6 separate regions of the Homo sapiens genome follow, and regions 2, 3, 4, 5 and 6 are each linked to region 1. The links are contacts of gene promoters, found by promoter capture Hi-C in human tissues and cell types (Jung and others, 2019). All regions are on one chromosome and are shown on one strand. The core of a region is centred on a gene start or on the middle of the fragment in contact, and the rest is flanking DNA. Distances in the headings are between cores, read along the strand shown. Region 1 holds the start of SAFB2 (scaffold attachment factor B2). Region 2 holds the start of FEM1A (fem-1 homolog A). Region 3 holds the start of ARRDC5 (arrestin domain containing 5). Region 4 overlaps UHRF1 (ubiquitin like with PHD and ring finger domains 1). Region 5 overlaps KDM4B (lysine demethylase 4B). Region 6 overlaps KDM4B (lysine demethylase 4B).

Region 1 (3,677 bases), core at 792-3,291:
AAGGAGACGGTGGTGGTGGTGGCAGAGCCTTGTGTATACACTAGGAAGCACTGAATTGTACACCTTAACCTGATGAATTTAACGGTCTGTGAATTAAACCTTCACATTCAAAAACCGTAATAGTAAAAAATAGGCTGAGTGCAAATACCCCAACAATCTACTTTGGACCCTAGCAAAGCTGAGTTCTATTCGGTCTCAGGTTGGTGTCCTTTTCTTTGGGTTAAGACCTATTTTTTGAACCAGGAAGGAAGCCAAGTAGGTACATTTGGTTCCTCAGACCCGTAGAAGTAGCTTTAAGAGCTTGTCTTTCTCTAGTTGACTTTTAATCCCAATGGCAGAAGCTGAAACGTTTTTCGTATATTTTAATTGCACTTGGCACCTGTACATCTCTTTCCTCCTCCCTGTGCCCTTGACAGAGCTACCTGTTAGGTGGTGACGAGCAAAGCTAACTCTTAGTGGAGGGACACCGAGTACCAGAGAAATTCTCCCAGCCTAGAAGGCGGGAAGAGCACACTACACACCATTTCTCTAAATTCTCTGAACACTCAAGCCCCAAGCAGCATATGTACAATACCTTTAACACATCTCTTGGCTGACTTCTTGCTGGTGGCTTCTAACTCGATGCCAATTTCATCAGGATCTTGCCCCTCTTCTTTAACCGCCTATTAGGGAGAGATGAGTTTTACAACATCATTAAGAGCTGCAGGGCACACACTGTTCCTTACAAGTAACAACCTCCCATGAAACAAAGGCAAACCCGTCCTTGCAAAGAGCAACTCCGGGTCAGCTATCTGGGCCGCAAGCCCAAAAGGCGGAGGAGGAACCCCGCACAACTTGGGTCTCTCTGGGTCCAAATGACAAAGGAGAGGGAGGCTGTGAGCAGGAGCTCCAGAATTGGGGTCAAGGACCAGTTCCAAAATGGCAACTCAACTCGACAATGCCAAACCTTCGACTTTAAAGTTATATGATGGGACAAATTAGAACAGAGAGGCTGCACTTGGCCCGGCCTCGGTGAAGGGCTGGCCACCGCTGGTGAGGAGGAACAGCAGCCAGCCTGGGGAGATTCAACAGGTCCCTCAGTGCCTGCCACCTGCCGGGTCCAGGACTGGGTACCCACAAGCTCCCTCCCTATGCTCAAGTTGTTTGTTCCAGTTGCGGAAACAGACAATTCCCAACCCCTTAATATTTTGCATTTAGCCCCTGCTTTCAGCGAGGTGCGACACAAACGCAGGATGAGCTGGCAAGGAGGTGGGGCAGCGCATTAGGAAGGGCGCTCAGGAAGGTGATGTCTCAGGCAGACCCAAAATGACAACAAGGGGCCGGCCACGAGAAGATCTGGGGGACCCGGGTGGACAGCTTCGTAAAGGCCAAAGCCCTGGGGCAAGAACAAGCACCGCCCCCTTTCCTGTAAATGCTCTGGAGTCCGCCAGACACCCATTCTCCGGAGGAGGAAACTGAGGCACAGAGAGAAAGGCACCTGCCCAAGGTCACAGAGCCAAGGCTCGATCGGGAGCCCCAGGAGGGGTCCCGGGGCCACCCTGGTAGCGGAGAAGACCGCACGCTGAGCGCGCTTGAGGAGAAAAGGTGGAAAGAGGATAGGAAGGGAGGCACAGAGAGGAGCGGTGACGGGCCAAGGTCACACAGCCGGCCCCCTGGGTGCCCGACACCTCGAACCGGGGTCGGCCAAGACGCGGGGCGAACCCAGGGCGCCCCGGGTCCGGGAGCCGCGGTGACAGGTGCAGGCGGGGGCGTGCCCGGGCCTCCTGCGCCACCCCCGAGCCCCGCGCCGCCTCACCTTCTTGAGCCGCTCCATCAGGACGCTCTTGTTGCCGCCCGTGTCCAGGTTCCGCTTCTTCAGCTCCGCCCGCAGATCGATCACCCGCAGCTCGCTGAGCCGCCTCGTCCCAGTCTCCGCAACGCCCGGGCCGAGAGAAGCCGTGCCAGGGCCCGAGTCGCCCGACCCGGGCAGAGTCTCCGCCATCGTCGCGTTCCCGTCTTCGCCACCGACTCAGTCGCACACCGCCGGCAGCTATAGCGGCTCTGAACACAAAATGGCGCCGCCTAAGAGGAAAACGCACTCGTTTCCTCCCGCCCCGCTTTGCGGCCGCGCACGCGCACGCGCACCGCCCCCACTAGCGTACTTAGCAGCAAGGACGCTCGCGCGTCCACCAACCGCGGGTTCCCCGGCACAACGCGCAAGCGCTGAATCTGCAGCTCGCATGCGTCCCGGCAGTTCCCGGCGGGAGGCTGACGAGACGCAACGCGTCTGCGCACATCCCCGCGTTGTTCTCACTGCGCATGTGCAGTTGCAACCGGGATACTAGAACCTACGCTTGGTGCGCCTGCGCAGAAGCGAGGCGCGCTGGGGCGACTGGAGCGGTTCCCTCGCAGGCGGCGCCATTTTGTGCTAGGAGCCTGATAAAACCGGCCCGGTTCTGTGGAAAGTGGGCGGCGGAGCCAGGGTCCCTGGAATGGCGGAGACTCTGTCAGGCCTAGGTGATTCTGGAGCGGCGGGCGCGGCGGCTCTGAGCTCCGCCTCGTCAGAGACCGGGACGCGGCGCCTCAGCGACCTGCGAGTGATCGATCTGCGGGCGGAGCTGAGGAAACGGAATGTGGACTCGAGCGGCAACAAGAGCGTTTTGATGGAGCGGCTGAAGAAGGTGGATTTGGGGCCCCGAGGGCGGGCACAGGGTGGGTCTGGGGTCCTCTTGGCCGCGACGGTGGCTCGCGGGCCCTGGCGTCCGCCCCCGGCCGCGTTCGCGGCCTCGCCGGACCTGGCGCTCTCGCGTCCCCCGGCTCCTCCGAGGCCCCGGAGAGAGTTCCTTGGCCGGCTGGGCCTGGGTTCAAATCCTAACGCCGCAATGGGGCCAGGAGAACCACAAAAACGGCACGCGTGCAGGAGAAACGGTGACGGGTGACATCGTCCACTGAGAGGAGGGTTCTCCCCTCGTCTCGTCCCCTCCTCCGTACCTGGAGGGGAGACCCTGAAACCCTCACTTCCCAGGCGAGGGGAAGGGACTCGGCCAAGGTCACACGGCCGAGGACGGGCAGCGTCGGGATTTGAACCCAGGCCCTGGGATTCCTGATTCGGCTGCTTGGTTTCCCCAGGGAAGATGCTTTGTGACCCACAGGGGACCGACCAGCCTGAATCGGGGCTGATTTACAAAGGAAACACCCGTAGGACATACTCAAAGGGAAAAATAGAAAAAAACCCACCACAATCCAGTTTTCACGGTTTGCCGGTACTCGCTCGGTGAAGTAACGTGGCAGGAAGGAAAAGTGGTGTTGACGGTAGTGATCAGAAATGTGAAATGAGGGGAGACCCCGGGTGGACTTTAAAACCAGCCTCAGAACTGCCCGGGAGGCGGGCAGAGCCTGGGCTCCCCCAGCTCCGTCAGTCTCTCTGGACTTGGGGACCCTGCCAGCTCTCGGTGGCCTGATCTTGGGCATAGGAGACCTTGAACCCCTTCTGAGTCCTCTTTTCTATTCTTTTTTTTTTTTTTTCTCCTGTAAGAAGCAAAAAAGCAATAGGACTTTGATTTGGGGATTAAATAAGTTTGCGTGGAGCAGGCTTGGCGTGCTGCCTGGCGCATGTAAACACTCGGTGTGTGGTTGCCATCACGATTCGCTTTTCCTCTCTGTGCCACCACGAGTCCTCATTTGCAGATCGGGGGCTC
Region 2 (3,677 bases), core at 880-3,379, 830 kb before region 1:
ATGAAACGCAGAGAACAGATCAGCAGTTACCAGTGGCTGCGGGTGGACAAAGGCGTTGATCAACAGGGCATGAGATAACATTCTTTTTTTTTGAGACGGAGTCTCGCTCTGTCGCCCAGGCTGGAGTGCAGTGGCGCGATCTCGGCTCACTGCAAGCTCTGCCTCCCGTGTTCACGCCATTCTCCTGCCTCAGCCTCCCGAGTAGCTGGGACTACAGGCGCCTGCCACCACGCCCGGCTAATTTTTTGTATTTTTAGTAGAGACGGGGTTTCACCGTGTTAGCCAGGATGGTCTCGATCTCCTGACCTCGTGATCCACCCATCTCGACCTCCCAAAGTGCTGGGATTACAGGCGTGAGACACCGCGCCCGGCCGGCATGAGATAACAATTCTGAATGAAGACGCTGTTGAACATCTTGGTTGTGATACTGGCTACATAGCTGCATGTTTGTCACACCTGTTCTCTTTATTTATTTTTATTTATTTATCTTAGAGACAGGGTCTCCCTCTGTCACCCAGGCTGAAGTACAATGGTGCAATCACGGCTCACTGCAGCCTTGACCTCCTAGGTTCAAGCGATCCTCCCACTTCAGCCTCCCGAGTAGCTGAGACAACAGGTGCACGCTACCACGCCCGGCTAATTTTTCTATTTTTGTAGAGATGTGCTATGTTTCCCAGGCTGGTCTCGAATTCCTGGGTTCAAGCAATCCTCCCACCTCAGCCTCCCAAAGTGCTGAGATTACAGGTGTGAGTCACCTTGCCCGGCCAAACCTGTCCTCTTTATTAAAAATGCATTTTATTGTATATATATTACACCTCGAATAAACTTTAAAAATAAAGAATTCGGGTCACCAAAGATTTCTTTTTCATAATATAATTCATTGTTGTCAAAAAATGCCAGGGAATGGATCACCTTACAACTGCTAGAATAGCTATCATCAAAAAGACGAAAGGTAACAAACGTTGGCAAGGATTTGAAGAGAACACTTATACACTACTGATGGTAATTTTAATTAGTATAGCCATTATAGAAAATGGTATGGAAGTTCCAAAGAAAAATTTAAAAATAAAACTACCAGGTGATCCAGGAATCCCACTTCTGGGTCTTTATCCAAAGGAATTGAAGTCAGCACGTCAGGCCGGGCATAGTGGCTCACGCCTGTAATTCTAGCACTTTGGGAGGCTGAGGCGGGCGGATCTCCCAAGGTCAGGAGTTCGAGACCATCCTGGCCAACATGGCGAAACCCGTCTCTACCAAAAATACAAAAATTAGCCGGGCGTGGTGGTGGATGTCTGTAGTCCCAGCTACTCGGGAGGCTGAGGCACGAGAATCACTTGAACCCGGGAGGCAGAGGTTGCAGTGAGCCGAGATTGCGGCATTGCCCTCCAGCCTAGGCAACAAGAGCGAGACGCTGTCTCAAAAACAAAAACCAAAACCAAAAAACCCCACAAAGTTATTGAAAGAAATAAATAAAAATAAATACGTAAATAAAAGAAGGAAATTCTGACACATACTAGAATATACATAAATGTATGTAAATGAATAAATGAATATATGAATGTGAGAATAAGAAGTGAGCGCGTCATTTTTTACCGTTCTCCCAGCTCAAAACGTTTTCGCCCCGTCCAGCTTTTCGGCCTCCTCCGGGCGCCCCCTGCCGGTGGGCCGCTTGCCCGTGCTCCAAGCCCAAAACAGACGCGTCCCCTCTAGTCGCTTTTAGCCTTCGGTCTCGGTCCTGATTGGCTCAGAGTCGCTCGTGATCCCTTTTGGGAAATGTAGTCCTTAAGGGTATCGCGCCTGCTTTTTCTATACGCTCTGACGCAGAGATAGCCACGGGAAGTACGTCACCAAATTTCGCCGGTTCCCACAAGCTAGGTCGTGTGACGCTGCATGACGGGAATTGTAGTCCTCAAATTGCTAGCTTCCGATGCCATGCGCTGCGACTGGAACGCCAATTCCCACCATGCCGCGCGCTCACAGCTCTCAGGGGCTGTCCTGTGGCCTTTGGGGAAGTGTAGTCTTGAGCCCCCAAGATTCCTTTTCTGTTCTATGGAGTGGGCCCGCGCAAAGGACTCCATTTCCCGGCGTGCTGCCATCCGTCGGGTCGCGGCAGCCATTTTGTTCCGCCCGAGGAGACCCTAAGATGGCGGCGAGGGGGACGGTGAAGGTTGCCTCCCGCCCGTCCGGGCTCTGATCCTCCGTCTCCCCGTCCCCCGGCGGCCGGCCCATGGCCTGGCGGAGGCCCGAACCATGGACCTCCGCACCGCCGTGTACAACGCCGCCCGTGATGGCAAGCTGCAGCTGCTCCAGAAGCTGCTCAGCGGCCGGAGCCGGGAGGAACTGGACGAGCTGACGGGCGAGGTGGCCGGCGGGGGAACGCCGCTACTCATCGCCGCCCGCTACGGCCACCTGGACGTGGTGGAGTACCTGGTGGACCGGTGCGGCGCGAGCGTGGAGGCCGGTGGCTCGGTGCACTTCGATGGCGAGACCATCGAGGGCGCGCCGCCGCTGTGGGCCGCCTCCGCAGCCGGCCACCTGGACGTGGTGCGGAGCCTGCTGCGCCGCGGGGCCTCGGTGAACCGCACCACGCGCACCAACTCCACGCCTCTCCGCGCCGCCTGCTTCGACGGCCACCTGGAGGTGGTGCGCTACCTGGTCGGCGAGCACCAGGCCGACCTGGAGGTGGCCAACCGGCACGGCCACACGTGCCTCATGATCTCGTGCTACAAGGGCCACCGTGAGATCGCCCGCTACCTGCTGGAGCAGGGCGCCCAGGTGAACCGGCGCAGCGCCAAGGGCAACACGGCCCTGCATGACTGCGCCGAGTCCGGCAGCCTGGAGATCCTGCAGCTGCTGCTGGGGTGCAAGGCCCGCATGGAACGTGACGGCTACGGCATGACCCCGCTGCTCGCGGCCAGCGTGACGGGCCACACCAACATCGTGGAGTACCTCATCCAGGAGCAGCCCGGCCAGGAGCAGGTCGCAGGGGGAGAGGCTCAGCCTGGGCTGCCCCAAGAAGACCCCTCCACCAGCCAGGGGTGTGCGCAGCCTCAGGGGGCTCCGTGCTGCAGCTCCTCCCCAGAGGAACCACTGAACGGGGAATCTTACGAAAGCTGCTGTCCCACCAGCCGGGAAGCTGCCGTGGAAGCCTTGGAATTGCTGGGAGCTACGTATGTGGATAAGAAACGAGATCTGCTTGGGGCCCTTAAACACTGGAGGCGGGCCATGGAGCTGCGTCACCAGGGGGGCGAGTACCTGCCCAAACCGGAGCCCCCACAGCTGGTCCTGGCCTATGACTATTCCAGGGAGGTCAACACCACCGAGGAGCTGGAGGCGCTGATCACCGACCCGGATGAGATGCGCATGCAGGCCCTGTTGATCCGGGAGCGCATCCTCGGTCCCTCGCACCCGGACACTTCCTATTACATCCGTTACAGGGGTGCCGTGTACGCCGACTCGGGCAATTTCGAGCGCTGCATCCGCTTGTGGAAGTACGCCCTGGACATGCAACAGAGCAACCTGGAGCCTCTGAGCCCCATGACCGCCAGCAGCTTCCTCTCCTTCGCGGAACTCTTCTCCTACGTGCTTCAGGACCGGGCCGCCAAAGGCAGCCTGGGCACCCAGATCGGCTTTGCAGACCTCATGGGGGTTCTCACCAAAGGGGTCCGGGAAGTGGA
Region 3 (3,677 bases), core at 597-3,096, 720 kb before region 1:
AGAGACAGTCGTTTGAACCCAGGAGGTTGCGGTGAGCCGAGATTGCGCCATTGCACTCCAGCCTGGGCAGCAAGAGCAAAACTCCGTCTCAAAAAAACGAAAACAAAAAATAAACAAAAATTAGCCAAGCATGGTGCCATGTGCCTGTGGTCTCAGCTACTCAGGAGGCTGAGGTGAGAGGATCGCTTATGCCAGAGAGGCTGGGGCTGCAGTGAGTTTTGATCACACCACTGGCCTCTAGCCTGGGCAACAGAGCGAGGCCCTGTCTCAAAAATAAATACATAAGCCAGGCCTGGTGGCTCATGCCTGTAATCCCAGTACTTTGGGAGGCCGAGGTGGGCGAATCACGAGGTCAGGAGTTCGAGACCAGCCTGGCCAACGTGGTGAAACCCTGCCTCTACTAAAAATACCAAAAATTGCTGGGCATGGTGGCGGGTGCCTGTAATCCCAGCCACTCAGGAGGCTGAGGCAGGAGAATCGTTTGAACCCGGGAGGCGGAGCTTGCAGCGAGCCGAGATGGTGCCACTTCACTCCAGCCTGGGAAGCAGGGCGAGACTGTGTCTCAAAAAATAGATAAATAAATAAATAAGATACAAATAAATAAATACAGAAATAAATTAAATTAAATTACACTTTGTTCAGCCAAGTGTTGGCCACGTGTTCTGCTTGACTGCTTAATACCTGGGAATATCCCCACAAACACATTTTGCAATGGACATATAATTTCCCCGACAACTCAGCAGACTCTCTGACATTTGTTCAGATTTCAGATCTGACCTGGTGGAACTGGGGACTAGTTATTCCTTCTCTGGAAGGTCTCCCTTGCTCTTCTACCTCCACTATCTTTCTTTTTTTGAGAGGGAATCTCGCTCCGTCACCCAGGCTGGCGTGCTGTGGTGCGATCTCAGCTTACTGGAACCTCCCCTTCACGAGTTCAAGTGATTCTCTTGCTTCAGCCTCCCAAGTAGCTGAGATTACAGGCACGTGCCAGCACGCCCAGCTAATTTTTTGGTATTTTTTGGTAGAGATGGGGTTTCGCTATATTGGCCAGGCTGGTCTCAAACTCCTGACCTCAAGTGATCCACCTGCCTCGGCCTCTCAAAGTGCTGGAATTACAGGTATGAACCACTGTGCCTGGCCCACCTCCACTGTCTCTCCCCATGAATGCAGGACTGCCTACTTTGTCTCCTGGGGTTTTGCTGTCAGAGTGAAACTTATCTGTAAAAGAATAAGACTTCTCAGAGGCCTCTCAAAGGCAGTTGTTGGATTGAGCATTTTCCAAGGAGACTACTTTGAACCTTCATTTTGAATATCGGGGTTCCGATCAGCTCCTTATGTCTTGTTATTTTTGCGTTTTGTGTATCTGATGGTCATTGTTCTTCATGGCCTCCCTCCTAGGGAGAAATCAGGCCACTCCCTATTTCTGATAGCCCTAGAGTTTTGTTGATTGACTCTCGGATGTGTTTATTTTCCAGACCCAGGTTCCTGTCATGGCTAGGGGTGGCTGTTGGCCTCGTCCTTACCCTCCACTGGGAATGTCTTTGTCTTATGCACGTAGTCTGCCTTGTTGTTGCAAATAACATTTCTGCTATAATCACAGGATGCCCCGGCTTCTTCACTCCATTCGACGTAACCCCTTCCCACGAGCTCCACCTTCACTATGGGGTCCACCAGGGTGCTGTTCAGGGTTAAGATCACCTGCCCTTTTATGCTGGAGCCAGCCAGGTAGATTCTATCCTCGGGCAGCACTAATTCGATCGACTTCACCACAGACATGGGGGGTTGGGGGGTAGAGAGACATTCCTCTCTGTCCCCCATGTCCCTGAAATTCCCGGTTCGTTGGCCCTAGTGAGGTAATCCATCTATGACATCACTCAGCTCAGAGTTCCGGGAAGTGGGGACCCCAGTGGCCAGGAGGGGAGGCAAAACTGTTGTTTAGGGTGGGTGGTTGATTGGGAAACCTGTAGTCCTCACTGGTTCTTTTTTTTTTTTTTTGAGATGGAGTCTTACCCTGTAGCCCAGGCTGGAGTGCAGGGGTGCCATCTTGGCTCACTGCAACCTCCGCCTCATGGGTTCAAGCAATTCTCCTGCCTCAGCCTCCTGAGTAGCTGGGACCACGGGTGCATGCCAGCATGCCCAGCTAATTTTTTGGTAGAGACAGAGTTTCACTGTGTTGGCCAGGATGGTCTCGATCTCCTGACCTCGTGATCCACCCACCTCAGCCTCCCAAAGTGCTGGGATTGCAGGCGTGAGCCACTGCACCTGGGCTTTTTCTTTTTTTGAGACAAAGTCTCATTCTGTCACCCAGGCTGGAGTGTAGTGGCGCGATCTCGGCTCACTGCCACATCTGCCTCCCGGGTTCAAGCAATTCTCCTGCTTCAGCCTCCTGAGTAGCTGGAATTACAGGCATGCACCATCACCATGCTTTGCTAATTTTTTTTTGGTATTTTTATTTATTTTATTTTTATTTTTTGTGATGGTCTCACTCTGTCAGCCAGACTGGAGTGCAATGGTGTGATCTCGGCTCACTGCAACCTCTGCCTCCTGGGTTCCAGCGATTCTCCCACCTCAGCCCCCCAAGTACCTGAGATTACAGGCAAGTGCCACTGCAACTAGCTAATTTTTGTATTTTTAGTAGAGACGGGGTTTCACCATGTTGGCCAGGCTGGTCTCGAACTTGTGGCCTCACATGATTCGCCTGCCTTGGCCTCCCAAAGTGCTGGGATTACAGTTGTGAGCCACTGTGCCCAGGTGCATACACACTCATTTTCATCTTAAAGACTCTACATTTATATTGGTCTATATTGGAAAAAACATAGAGATATGGCCAGGACCTGAAATCTGGTGCGCACTGAAGTTGATCAGGGCAGTGTGTGCTTAATCTGAACATCGACACCATCAGGAAGCAGCAACTCCCTGCATGATTGACATTTCTCTTTTTTTTTGAGGTGGAATCTCACTCTGTTGCCCAGGCTGGAGTGCAGTGGCGTGATCTCGGCTCACTGCAACCTCTGCCCCCTGGGTTCAAGCGATTCTCCTGCCTCAGCCTCCCAAGTAGCTGGGATTACGGGCATGGGGGTTACAGGCACCTGCCCCCGTGCCCGGCTAATTTTTGTTCTTTTTGTTTTTGTTTTTGTTTTTTTTTTGAGATTGGAGTCTCACTTTGTCACCCAGGCTGGAGTGCAGTGGTGCGATCTCGGCTCACTGCAAGCTCCGCCTCCCGTGTTCATGCCATTCTCCTGCCTCAGCTTCCCGAGTAGCTGGGACTACAGGCGTCCGCCACAAATGCCTGGCTAATTTTTTGTATTTTTAGTAGAGACGGGGTTTCATCATGTTAGCCAGGATGGTCTCAATCTCCTGACCTCGTGATCCGCCCACCTTGGCCTCCCAAAGTGCTGGGATTACAGGCGTGAGCCACCGCACCCAGCCAATTTTTGTTATTTTTAGTAGAGACAGGGTTTCACCATCTTGGCCAGGCTGATCTTGAACTCCTGACCTCATGATCCACCCGCCTCACTTGGCCTCCCAAAGTGCTGGGATTACAGGCATGAGCTACCACGCCTGGCTGACATTTCTCTTTATGCCTGCATCTCCCCCATTGGATGGGAAGTCCCTCCAGGGTGAGACCTTGTCTAAGTGAACTTTGTGCCCATCAATGTCTGCGTGACCCAGGCAGG
Region 4 (3,677 bases), core at 342-2,841, 680 kb before region 1:
TCCAACCTCAGCCTCCCACGTAGCTGGGACCATAGGCGTGCACCACCATGCCTGACTAATTTTTTTTTTTGTTTTTTGATGAGACAAAGTCTCGCTCTGTCACCCATGGTGGAGTGCAGTGGCACGATCTTGGTTCCCTGCAACCTCCACCTCCCGGGTTCAAGCGATTCTCCTGCTTTAGCCTCCCGAGTAGCTGGGATTACAGGCGTGCTCCACTGCACCTGGCTCATTTTTTTTTGTATTTTCAGTAGAGACAGGGTTTCACCATGTTGGCCAGGCTGGTCTTGAACTCCTGACCTTAGATAATCCACCCGCCTCAGCCTCCCAAAGTGCTAGGATTACAGGCATGAGCCACTGCACCCGGCCATTTTTTTTTTTTTTTTTTTTTTAATTTTCGGTAGCAATGGGGGTCTGGCTAGATTGGTCTCGAACTTTTGAGTTCAAGTGATACTCCTGCCTCAGCCTCCCAAAAGGTGCTGGGATTATAGGTATGAGCCACTATACCCAGTCTTAGAATATGTTTTTCTTTCTTTTTTTTTGAGACGGAGTCTTGCTGTTTGCTGTCTCACCTAGGCTAGAGTGCAGTGGTGCAATCATAGCTCACTGCAGCCTTGAACTCCTGGGCTGAAGCAATTCTCCTGCCTTAGCCTCCTTTTCCTTAACACTTAATTTGTTGAGGAATCCTGGTCATTTGTCCCAGGAGTTCCAAATGGCTCTATCCAGACTGTAGAGATGACCAGGAGATGTCACTTGCTGTGTGCGTCTGTGCTACCTGTGAGCTGGTAGGTCAGTGTGTTCCCACACTGTCCCATAGCCAAGAGCCACCTGTGCTGTGCTTGAAATGTGGCCAGGAGGAACTGGAATGTACTGTGAGTGTAAAATACACATGGGTGCCAGGCGCAGTGGCTCATGCCTGTAATCCCAGTACTTTGGGGGGCCGAGGTGGGCGGATCACAAGGTCAGGAGATCGAGACCATCCTGGCAAACACGGTGAAACCCCGTCTCTACTAAAAATACAAAAAATTAGCCAGGCGTGGTGGCGGGTGCCTATAGTGCCAGCTACTCAGGAGGCTGAGGCAGGAGAGTGGCGTGAACCCGGGAGGTGGAGCTTGCAGTGAGCCGAGATCGTGCCACTGCACTCCAGCCTGGGCGACAGAGCGAGACTGTCTCAAAAAAAAAAAAAAAAACACATGGGCTTTCAGAGACCTGGTACAAAAGAAGAATGTAAAGTAGCTCATTAATAACTTTTTCATATTCATTCCATGTTGAAATAATCTTTTGTCTACACTGGGTTCTATGGAACATATTCCAATTACTTCCACCTATGTTTACCTCTCAAACGTGCTTATTAGGAAATTTAGAATTACATACACAGCGTGTGTTCAAGTGCTGTTTCCCTCGGACGTTGCTGATGGGGATGTCGGATTATTGATCTCGGGGGATCAGTTTCACTCACAGGAGTTCTTGTATTTTGATGTAGGCCATTGGATCAAGCGTTGCCTTTATGATTTTTTTTTTTTTTTTTTTTTTTTGAGATGGAGTCTTGCTCTGTCGCCCATGCTGGAGTGCAGTGGCGTGATCATCTCAGCTCCACAACCTCCATTTCCCAGGTTCAAGCGATTCTCCTGCCTCAGCCTCCCGAGTAGCTGGGATTACAGGCACGGGCCACCATGCCCAGCTAATTCTTGTATTCTTAGTAGAGACGGGGTTTCACTATGTTGGCCATGCTAGTCTCGAAGTCCTGACCCTCGTGATCCACCCACCTTGGCCTCCCAAAGTGCTGGAATTACAGATGTGAGCCACGGTGCCCAACTTGATTTATTTATATATTTTTTTGATGAGATGGAGTCTCACTCTGTCGCCCAGGCTGGAGTGCAGTGGCACGATCTTGGCTCACTTCAGCGTCTGCCTCCTGGGTTCAAGCAATTCTCCTGCCTCAGCCTCCTGGGTAGCTGGGATTACAGGTGCGCGCTACCATGCCCAGCTAATTTTTGCATTTTTAGTAGAGACAGGGTTTTACCATGTTGGCCAGGCTGGTCTCGAACTCCTGACCTCAGATGATCGGCCTGCCTCGGTCTCCCAAAGTGTTGGAATTACAGGTCTGAGCTACCATGCCCGGCCAACCTTTATGAGTCTTGCTTGTCGGTTCTTGTGGATTTGGTGCTCCTTAGCCAAAGGTTCAAACTCATTCTTCCCAGGGCATCCTGCAATGAAACTCTGGTTTCTGTGTTTTGTTTTTTTTTTTTTTTTTTTTTTTGAGACTGAGTCTTGCCCTGTCGCCCAGGCTGGAGTGCAGTGGCGCGATCTTGGCTCACTGCAACCTCTGCCTCCCGGGTTCAAGTGATTCTTCTGCCTCAGCCTCCCGAGTAGCTGGGATTACATGCGCGCTTCTCCAAGCTCAGCTAATTTTTGTATTTTCAGTGGAGGCGGGGGTTCACCATGTTGGCCAGGCTGGTCTCGAACTCCTGACCTCGGCCTCCCAGTGTTGGTATTACAGGCGTGAGCCACTGCGCCCTGTTCCGTTTCATGTTGCTTCTGTGAGTGCAGCTTTGATTGCTAGGGGGCGTAGCTGAGCTGTTGCCCCAGGCATCCCGAGAACCCGTGGTGTTCAAGTGCTGTGAGTAGATTTAGGGGCCTCGGCAGGCCAGAATGTTCCAGCGTCCTCGTTCCTTGCAGGGATGATTCTCTGAACGACTGTCGGATCATCTTCGTGGACGAAGTCTTCAAGATTGAGCGGCCGGGTGAAGGGAGCCCCATGGTTGACAACCCCATGAGACGTGAGTTCTGAGCCAGCCTTTCCCCATCTTCCGCGGTGGGCACGGGGCGGGGGCTCTTGTCCCGTCTCTGGCTTGGCCGGGCCCCGCCGGAGCTGACCCTGCCGCCCCGTGCCCAGGGAAGAGCGGGCCGTCCTGCAAGCACTGCAAGGACGACGTGAACAGACTCTGCCGGGTCTGCGCCTGCCACCTGTGCGGGGGCCGGCAGGACCCCGACAAGCAGCTCATGTGCGATGAGTGCGACATGGCCTTCCACATCTACTGCCTGGACCCGCCCCTCAGCAGTGTTCCCAGCGAGGACGAGTGGTGAGTGCGGCCCTGCCCGCCGCGGGGAGACCAGAGCGCCCCCTACAAATCCCCAGAGGGGCACTGAGGAGATACAGGAGAGGGGCAGGCGCGGGGGCTCACGCCTGCAATCCCAGTGCTTTGGGAGGCCGAGGCGGGAGGATCACTTGAGCTCAGGAGTTCAAGAGCAGCCTGGGCAACACAAGACCAGCCTGGGGGACGTAGAGACTCTGTTTCTTTTTTTGTTTGTTTTTTTGAGACGGAGTCTTTTTTCTTTTCTTTTTCTTTTCTTTTTTTTTTGCGGCGGAGTCTCGCTGTCTCCCAGGCTGGAGTGCAGTGGCGCGATCTCAGCTCACTGCAAGCTCCGCCTCTCGGGTTCACGCCATTCTCCTGCCTCAGCCTCCCGAGTAGCTGGGACTACAGGCGCCCGCCTCCACGCCTGGCTAATTTTTTGTATTTTTAGTAGAGATGGGGTTTCACCTTGTTAGCCAGGATGTTCTTGATCCCCTGACCTCGTGATCCGTCCGTTTCGGCCTCCCAAAGTGCTGGGATTATAGGCGTGAGCCACCTCGCCCAGCCTTGAGACGGAGTCTAATGGCACGATCTTGGCTCACTGCA
Region 5 (3,677 bases), core at 583-3,082, 630 kb before region 1:
GCCTCCTGGGTTCACGCCATTCTCCTGCCTCAGCCTCCGGAGTAGCTGGGACTACAGGTGCCCGCCACCACGCCCGGCTAATTTTTTGTATTTTTAGTAGAGACGGGGTTTCACCATGTTAGCCAGGATGGTCTCAATCTCCTGACCTCGTGATCCACCCGCCTCGGCTTCCCAAAGTGCTGGGATTACAGGCATGAGCCACCGTGCCCGGCCTCATGAACCCTTCTTTGAGCTTAATTTGCTAATGCACCTCTCAAAACTCAGGGGAGCTGTTACTTACGTTTACCAGCTTATTAGAAAGGATTTTACAAAGGAGGCAGATGAAGACATGTGTAGGGTGAGGGATGTGGGAAGGGGCACAGAGGGTTCCGTGCTCTCCCCGGGCTGTGACGTCTCCAGGAACCTCCACGCATTCATCTGTGGGGAAGCTTCCATCCCAGTCCTCCGGGTTTTACCTCAGCTTCCTCGCAGAGGCTTGGGTGACCTCACTGCATTGGCCTGGGTGATCAAGTCAGCCTTCAGCCACATGCCCCTCCCCTCCCGTCCAGCCTGGGTCTTTTCAGTGAGCAGCCCTATTCCCTCAGCTCCCGAGGGGCTGCCAAGCCCTTAGTCACCTCATTAGCACACTGGAGAATTCCGAGGATCTGGGGGAGTCGTAGGCCAGGAAACAGGACAAAATGTATTTCACAGTCTCACTGGGCCGGTCCCTTGCCTCCGCTTCCTTGTCTGTGATGAGAGGACGGGAGGGTGGCTGTCTGGACAGTGCTGAAGTGGTAGAGGTGAGTCGCTGCCGTGGAGGGCTTGGCAGGGTGCTCTGTGAAGGGCCCTGTGGCCTGGGGTGGAAGCCGCTTGCAGAGTGCTGGTTCTTTGCCTAAGGATGGTGGGGCAGGGGGGCCGTGTTCACACGTGCTGTTGGCTGTGTCTGCCAGTCTTCCTTTCTTTTTTCTGTTTCTGTTTCTTTTTCTTTGTTTTTTTTTGTTTGTTTGTTTGTTTTGAGACAGAGTCTTGCTCTGTCGCCCAGGCTGGAGTGCAGTGGCACGATCTTGGCTCACTGTAACCTCCGTCTCCCAGGTTCAAGCGATTCTCCTGCCTCAGCCTCCCCCAGTAGCTGGGATTACAGGCATGCACCACCACGCCCAGCTAATTTTTTTGTATTATTAGTAGAGACAGGGTTTTACCATGTTGGCCAGGCTAGTCTTGAACTCCTGACCTCAGGTGATCCGCCTGCCTCAGCCTCCCAAAGTGCTCGGATTACAGGCATGAGCCACCATGCCCAGTCTTCTTCTTCTTCTTCTTCTTTTTTTTTTGTGAGATGGAGTTTCACTTTGTTGTCCAGGCTGGAGTGCAAGGGCACGATTTTGGCTCACTGCAACCTCTGCCTTCTGGGTTCAAGCGATTCTCCTGCCTCAGCCTCCTAAGTAGCTGTGATTACAGGCATGCGCCACTGTGCCCGGCTAATTTTTGCATTTTTAGTAGAGATAGGGTTTCACCTTGTTCACCAGGCTGGTCTTGAACTCCTGACTTCAGGTGATCCACTCGCCTCGGCCTCTCCGAGTGCTGGGATTATAGGCGTGAGCCACGGTGTCTGACTCAGTCTTCCTTTTCATGTCATCCCTTGTTAATTTCCTTTAGAAACAGTTTGGGCCAGGTGCAGTGGGTGGCTTATGCCTGTCATCCAAGCGCTTTGGGGGGCTGAGGTGGGAGGATCACTTGAGGCCAGGAGTTCAAGACCAGGCTGGGCAACATAATGAGACCCAGTCTCTACAAAAAAATTAAAAGCTTAGCTGAGCATGGAGGTGGCACCTGTAATCCCAGCTACTTGGGAGGCTGAGGCAGAAGGATCGCTTGAACCCAGGAGGTTGAGGCTGCAGTGAGCCACGATTGCACCAGTGTGCTCCAGCCTGGGCAAAAGAGTGAGACCCTGTCCCCGCCCCACAAAAAGAGGGTCAGAACCTTGGTGTTAGAGCAGTTCACTTCCACCCAAAAACAGGGACTTAGAAAGGGAGACACTTGTGTGGAGCCCGAGGCAGACATGCCCTGACTTAGCAGTGCAGGTTTCTGTACTGGAATGAGGGCCTGGGGCAGGTGGCCTCTGGCAGGATGCATCTGTTACCTGAGTCTGAAGGCAGCGTGGCGAGGAGATGGGAGGGCTGTGCCTGGGATCCTGGGGCCGTGGAGAGCTCATCTAGAGGTCATGAGTATTGGGCAAAGCTCACATGCCGTGTTTTAATACTGTCATTATGGAAGTTGGCCTGGGGGTAATCCAGTGTCTCTTTTAGATCTGTGTTGTACAAACACTGAACTAGTTCTGGTCGCCTCTCCGGCCTTTGTTTTGGGGAGAATATTCGATGAGATGGCCCGTAATTCTAACACTGTGCATTTTGAAGGATATTTATAAACCCGGATGGATAAGGCCCTTCTTAGTGCTATTCTTGTGTTGGTTCCCTTTATTATTTTTTTTAAAAAACTTTATTATGGGCCGGGTATGATGGCTCACGCCTATAATCCCAGCACTTTGGGAGTCTGAGGTGGGCGGACCACCTGAGATCAGGAGTTCGAGACCAGCCTGACCAATATGGTGAAACCTCGTCTTTACTAAAAATACAAAAATTAGCTGGGCGTGATGGCGGGCGCCTGTAGTCCCAGCTACTAGGGAGGGGACAGGAGAATTGCTTGAACCCAGGAGGCGGAGGATGCAGTGAGCTGAGATTGTGCCGCTGCACTCCTGCCTGGGCGACAGAGTGAGACTCGGTCTCAAAAAATAGTAAAGCAAAAAATAAAAATAAAAACACTGTTATGGAGAATTTGACTACACAGAAAGGTAGACAACATGGAATAACGAGCCCCCCAGGCCCCTCACCCAGCCCCAAAACCATCAACCCATGGCAACCCCCCCTGCCCTACCCCCATCTGTGGTGAAATAGCCCTCATATTATTTTTGTTAACTTTTAATTTTTAAAGAATTACAGAGGCTGGGTGTGGTGGCTCACACCTGTCATCCAGGCACTTTGGGAGGCAGAGGTGGGAGGATCACTTGAGTCCAGTAGTTCGAGACCAGCCTGGGCAACACAGTGAGACCCTGTCGCTACAAAAGCAAAAATAAGAATGAATTATAGACTGCCAAGGTGTTGCAAAAATAATAAAGAGATTTCCCTAGGCTTCACCCTGCTGTCTCCAGTGGTAACATTTTACATAACTTTAGTGTCCCGTTAAAACTAGGAAATTGACACAGGACACTGTGGCTTCAGACCTTCCTCAGGCGTCCTCAGTGTTAGCACTGGCTCATTCTTTTGGTAGAGTCTTTGCGACATTCTGTTACCTGCACAGATTCCAGGAACCACCATTGCAATCAAGATACAGAACTGTTCTGTCAACACAAAGGAACGCTCTGCTTCTCCCTTCTGTCACCCCCAGGCCCTGGCGACGGCTGAGGATCTCTGCATCTCTGTAACCTTGCCCTTTTGAGAATGTTATGTAGATGGAATCACAGCGTATTTAACCTCTTGGGATTGGGTTTTTTCGCTTGCAATCTGTCGAAGTTGTTGTGTGTATCAGTAGTTACTTTCTTTTATTACTCAGTAGTTCTCCATACGGGTGTTGTTTTCTCATTCTGCTTATTTCTGTGAGACGGGTGGCAGTGGTAAGGTCCCATCTTTCATTCCCGATTTTAGCAATTT
Region 6 (3,677 bases), core at 821-3,320, 580 kb before region 1:
TTTATCGGAGTGGGGGTGTCCACTGTATCCCGCGTGGTGGTTATCGGAGTGGGGGTGTCCACCTTATCCCGCGTGGTGTTTATCGGAGTGGGGTGTCCACCTTATCCCACGCGGTGTTTATCGGAGTGGGGGTGTCCACCTTATCCCGCGTGGTGTTTATCGGAGTGGGGGTGTCCACCTTATCCCGCGTGGTGTTTATCGGAGTGGGGTGTCCACCTTATCCCACGCGGTGTTTATCGGAGTGGGGTGTCCACCTTATCCCACGCGGTGTTTATCGGAGTGGGGGTGTCCACCTTATCCCGCGTGGTGTTTATCGGAGTGGGGTGTCCACCTTATCCCGCGTGGTGTTTATCGGAGTGGGGTGTCCACCTTATCCCACGCGGTGTTTATCGGAGTGGGGGTGTCCACCTTATCCCGCGTGGTGTTTATCGGAGTGGGGTGTCCACCTTATCCCGCGTGGTGTTTATCGGAGTGGGGTGTCCACCTTATCCCACGCGGTGTTTATCGGAGTGGGGGTGTCCACCTTATCCCGCGCAGTGTTGATCAGTTCATCCGCTGACGGACATTTGGGCTGTGTTCTCTTTTTGGCTATTTTGAATAATGGTGCTGTGAACGTTTCTTGTGTGTTTGTTTCTTTGTCTTTGAGACAGAGTCTTGCTCTGTCACCTAGGCTGCAGTGCAGTGGCGCAATCTCAGCTCTCTGCAACCTTGCCTCCTGGGTTCAAGCGATTCTCCTGCCTCAGCCTCCCGAGTAGCTGGGATTACAGTGTCACATGGAGTCATCCCACCACTCTAATGATCCCCTGAGCTCCCCCTCGTCATTCCTCCCTCTCCCCCATCCCTCTCCTGCGCCCCAGGCAACCACTGATGTCTCACTGTCTCCATAGCTCAGCCTTTTCCAGAATGCCGTGAGCTGGAATCCTACAGTCGGTAGCCTTTTCCCATTGGCCTCTTTGACCAAGCAATAGGTGTTCAAGTTTGCTCCATTTTTCATGGCTTGAGAGCTCATTTCTTTTCAGCGCTGAATAATACTCCATGGTCCGGGTGCACCACAGTGTGCCTGCTCATTCACCTATTAAAGGACCCTTCCAAGTTTGGTCAATGTGGGCAGAAGTTTTCATCTCCTTTGGGTAAATACCAAGGAGTACAGTTGCTGGACCACGTGGTGAGAGGACGTTTAGTTTTTTAAGACGCCACCAAACTGTCCTCCCGCCCACCTGTCCCACTGTGTGCTCCTAGCAGCAGCGAATGAACGTTCCCAGGGCCCCGCTTCCCCGCCCCCATCTGGAGTTGTCGGTGTTGTGCATCCTGGCCACCCTGGGAGGCGTGTTGCGCTGTCTCATTGCCATTTCAATCTGCATTCCCCCGATGGCTGCCTTCGCGGCGGGGCCCCTTTGCATGCCTGTTTGCCATCTGTGTGTTTCCTTGGTGAGCTCTCTTCATGTCTTTTGCCCAGTTTGTTGTTGTTGTTGTTGTTGTTTGAGATGGAGTCTCGCTCTGTTGCCCAGGTTGGAGTGCAGTGGCGTGATCTAGGCTCACTGCAACCTCCACTTCCTGGGTTCAATCATTTCTGTGCCTCAGCTTCCCAAGTAGCTGGGATTACATTACAGGCGCCCACCACCACACCCAGCTAATTTTCTTTCTTTTTTTTTTTTTGAGATGGAGTCTTGCTCTGTCACCAGGCTGGAACTACGGTGCCCACCACCACGCCCAGCTAATTTTTGAATTTTTAGTAGCGATGGGGTTTCACCATGTTGGCCAGGATGGTCTCAATCTCTTGACTTCGTGATCTGCCCGCCTTGGCCTCCCAAAGTGCCGGGATTTACAGGCATGAGCCACCATGTCCAGCCTAATTTTTGTATTTTTAGTAGAGACGAGGTGTTGTCATGTTGGCCAGGCTGGTCTCAAGCTCCTGACCTCAGGTGATCCACCTGCCTTGGCCTCCCAAAGTGCTGGGATTACAGGCGTGAGCTACCGCGCCTGGCCATCTTTTTCTGTTTTTTAACCATGCTGTTTGTTTTCTTCTGGTTAAATTTGAGAGTTTGCTGTGTATTTTGGTTATCAGTTGTGACTTGCAAGTATTTTCTTTCTGACTGGGGCTTGTCTTTCTCTTACGGATCCTGCCTGATTGTTTTCAAGTGAAAGTTCAGCCTCAGACTCCAGTGCATGAGAGCCTCTGGGTTGGCTGGCCTGCACTGCCTGCACTTGGCCTGTAGTGATGACCCGGGAGGGACTCTGCAGCCGCACGCAGGCTGTGCCAGCCCAGGCCGACCTGCCACAGGTGCCAGGGGAAGCTTCAGGGCTTCCTTGCCATGTGTTTGCCATGCCTAGCCTATGCACTAGCCTACTTTTACAGCGGGGGAAACAGCCCACAGCAGAGAAGCGACTTGCTGTGGTCCCAGGATGAATTTGCGCCCAGCTCAGCCTGTGCCTGGGGCCTCCCTCTGCCCCATCTGGGTCTCATCACTGCCTCCCTCCTCACCTCTTCTGGGCTCCTGCCAGGGCTCACCTTGCAAAGGAACCGCTGGTCTTGCCAAGTCTGAGGGCCGGTCGTGCAGGTGCAGGAACAGCTGGTGGGGGGTGGATTCAGGCTGTGAGAGCAGCTCACGTTCATGTGTGTCTGGGCTCCTCTCGGCCTCTCAGCAGGCCATGAGCCTCTCCGGGGACTGCAGTGACTAATGTGTATTTTATGAGCTCTTGGGACAGGACGGGGTTTGTTTGCTTGTGGCATTAAGAATAGATGTGCCTGGTGGGTGGGGATTCCGTCCTTGTTTGCCTAGTTCTGAAAACTGTCTTCGTCTCCTCGGTCAGAAGCTGTGGAAGGGCTGTCACTGGGCCTTGGCTCCGGTACCATCGCTGGGTTAGCCCCAAGTGGTGACTGTTTTTCTCCTTCCGTGTCATTGACTTAGAGGCGTGTTAATTATGCACTCCCAAACTGCAGGCTTCACAACAAGGCCTCCACCCAGCAGGAAGCACGCAGCTCAGTGGAATCTGACAGGCCCTGCCTGCCTGGTGCACGCTGGCATGTGCGATGGGGCCCTTCCTGGAAGGGCCAAGCTGGCGGTGAGCCCTTCAGAAAAGGTGTCTGGGCTGGGTATGGCGGCTCATGCCTGCAGCCCCAGCGCTTGGAGGGGCCAAAGTGGGAGGGACCATTGAGCCCAGGAGTTCGAGACCAGCCTGGGCAACAGAGTGAGACTTCATCTCTACACAGAAAAAAGTAAAAATTAGCCAGGTGTGGTTTCTCACGCCTATAGCCTATAGTCCCAGGTACTCAGGAGACTGAGGCTGGAGGATTACCTGAGCCTGGGAGGTTGAGGCTGCAGTGAGCTATGATTCTGCCACTGCACTCCAGCCTGGGCAAGAATCTCACACAGGTTAAGACCAGCCCCTGGTCTGCAGGGTATGACCGGCCCCTGGGGGGGCCGCAGATACTGGGGTGGAGGAGGATGGGCAGCGACCCCTGGGACTCTGGGGAGAATTAGCCTGCACCCCAGGGCTCGCAGGTTCTGGGGGTGGCCGGGCGGTTGCCGACGCTGCTCTGCCGCCCCACAGGACGTGGCCCAGTGGAACATCGGGAGCCTCCGGACCATCCTGGACATGGTGGAGCGCGAGTGCGGCACCATCATCGAGGGCGTGAACACGCCCTACCTGTACTTCGGCATGTGGAAGACCACCTT

The links. The method cuts DNA at HindIII sites, captures the fragments that hold promoters and counts their contacts. A contact is called where the count stands out against the background at its distance.
Region 2: a contact is called between the fragment with the promoter of FEM1A here and the fragment with the promoter of SAFB2 in region 1, in 1 of the 25 tissues and cell types used here (dorsolateral prefrontal cortex).
Region 3: the fragment with the promoter of ARRDC5 here is called in contact with the fragment with the promoter of SAFB2 in region 1 in 2 of the 25 tissues and cell types used here (dorsolateral prefrontal cortex and spleen).
Region 4: a fragment that was not itself captured here is called in contact with the fragment with the promoter of SAFB2 in region 1 in 1 of the 25 tissues and cell types used here (dorsolateral prefrontal cortex).
Region 5: a contact is called between a fragment that was not itself captured here and the fragment with the promoter of SAFB2 in region 1, in 2 of the 25 tissues and cell types used here (dorsolateral prefrontal cortex and lymphoblastoid cells).
Region 6: a contact is called between a fragment that was not itself captured here and the fragment with the promoter of SAFB2 in region 1, in 1 of the 25 tissues and cell types used here (dorsolateral prefrontal cortex).

What each region holds. Positions count from the first base shown.
Region 1 is chr19:5,620,735-5,624,411 of GRCh38, forward strand. SAFB2 (scaffold attachment factor B2) reads right to left here and starts at 2,042. Exons shown (of 21, transcript NM_014649.3): 1 at 1,796-2,042; 2 at 575-662. The coding sequence starts at 1,981. It overlaps SAFB (scaffold attachment factor B), which reads left to right and starts at 2,349. Exons shown (of 21, transcript NM_001201338.2): 1 at 2,349-2,660. The coding sequence starts at 2,472. RefSeq lists silencers at 442-662, 1,667-1,786, 2,757-2,806 and enhancers at 581-1,313, 1,787-2,126, 2,047-2,779, 2,780-3,511. The HindIII fragment of the contact is 5,746 bases long and covers 1-3,677 here.
Region 2 is chr19:4,789,605-4,793,281 of GRCh38, forward strand. It overlaps FEM1A (fem-1 homolog A), which reads left to right and starts at 2,130. Exons shown (of 1, transcript NM_018708.3): 1 at 2,130-3,677. The coding sequence starts at 2,251. LOC124904620 (a long non-coding RNA gene) reads right to left here and starts at 1,688. Exons shown (of 2, transcript XR_007067103.1): 1 at 1,594-1,688. RefSeq lists enhancers at 1,783-2,440, 1,951-2,220, 2,441-3,097, 2,751-2,810, 3,098-3,677. The HindIII fragment of the contact is 32,697 bases long and covers 1-3,677 here.
Region 3 is chr19:4,901,050-4,904,726 of GRCh38, forward strand. ARRDC5 (arrestin domain containing 5) reads right to left here and starts at 1,847. Exons shown (of 3, transcript NM_001080523.3): 1 at 1,524-1,847. The coding sequence starts at 1,776. It also overlaps a transcript of UHRF1 not described here. The HindIII fragment of the contact is 23,961 bases long and covers 1-3,677 here.
Region 4 is chr19:4,938,852-4,942,528 of GRCh38, forward strand. It overlaps UHRF1 (ubiquitin like with PHD and ring finger domains 1), which reads left to right. Exons shown (of 17, transcript NM_001048201.3): 6 at 2,677-2,777; 7 at 2,894-3,080. Among named protein-coding and RNA genes, the nearest start is that of MIR4747, 8.0 kb to the left of the region's middle. The HindIII fragment of the contact is 9,189 bases long and covers 1-3,677 here.
Region 5 is chr19:4,988,362-4,992,038 of GRCh38, forward strand. All of the region lies in intron 1 of KDM4B (lysine demethylase 4B), which reads left to right. Among named protein-coding and RNA genes, the nearest start is that of KDM4B, 21 kb to the left of the region's middle. RefSeq lists enhancers at 180-685, 686-1,190, 1,407-1,908, 1,909-2,408. The HindIII fragment of the contact is 6,577 bases long and covers 1-3,677 here.
Region 6 is chr19:5,043,924-5,047,600 of GRCh38, forward strand. It overlaps KDM4B (lysine demethylase 4B), which reads left to right. Exons shown (of 23, transcript NM_015015.3): 6 at 3,553-3,677. Among named protein-coding and RNA genes, the nearest start is that of KDM4B, 77 kb to the left of the region's middle. RefSeq lists an enhancer at 2,691-3,494. The HindIII fragment of the contact is 4,426 bases long and covers 1-3,677 here.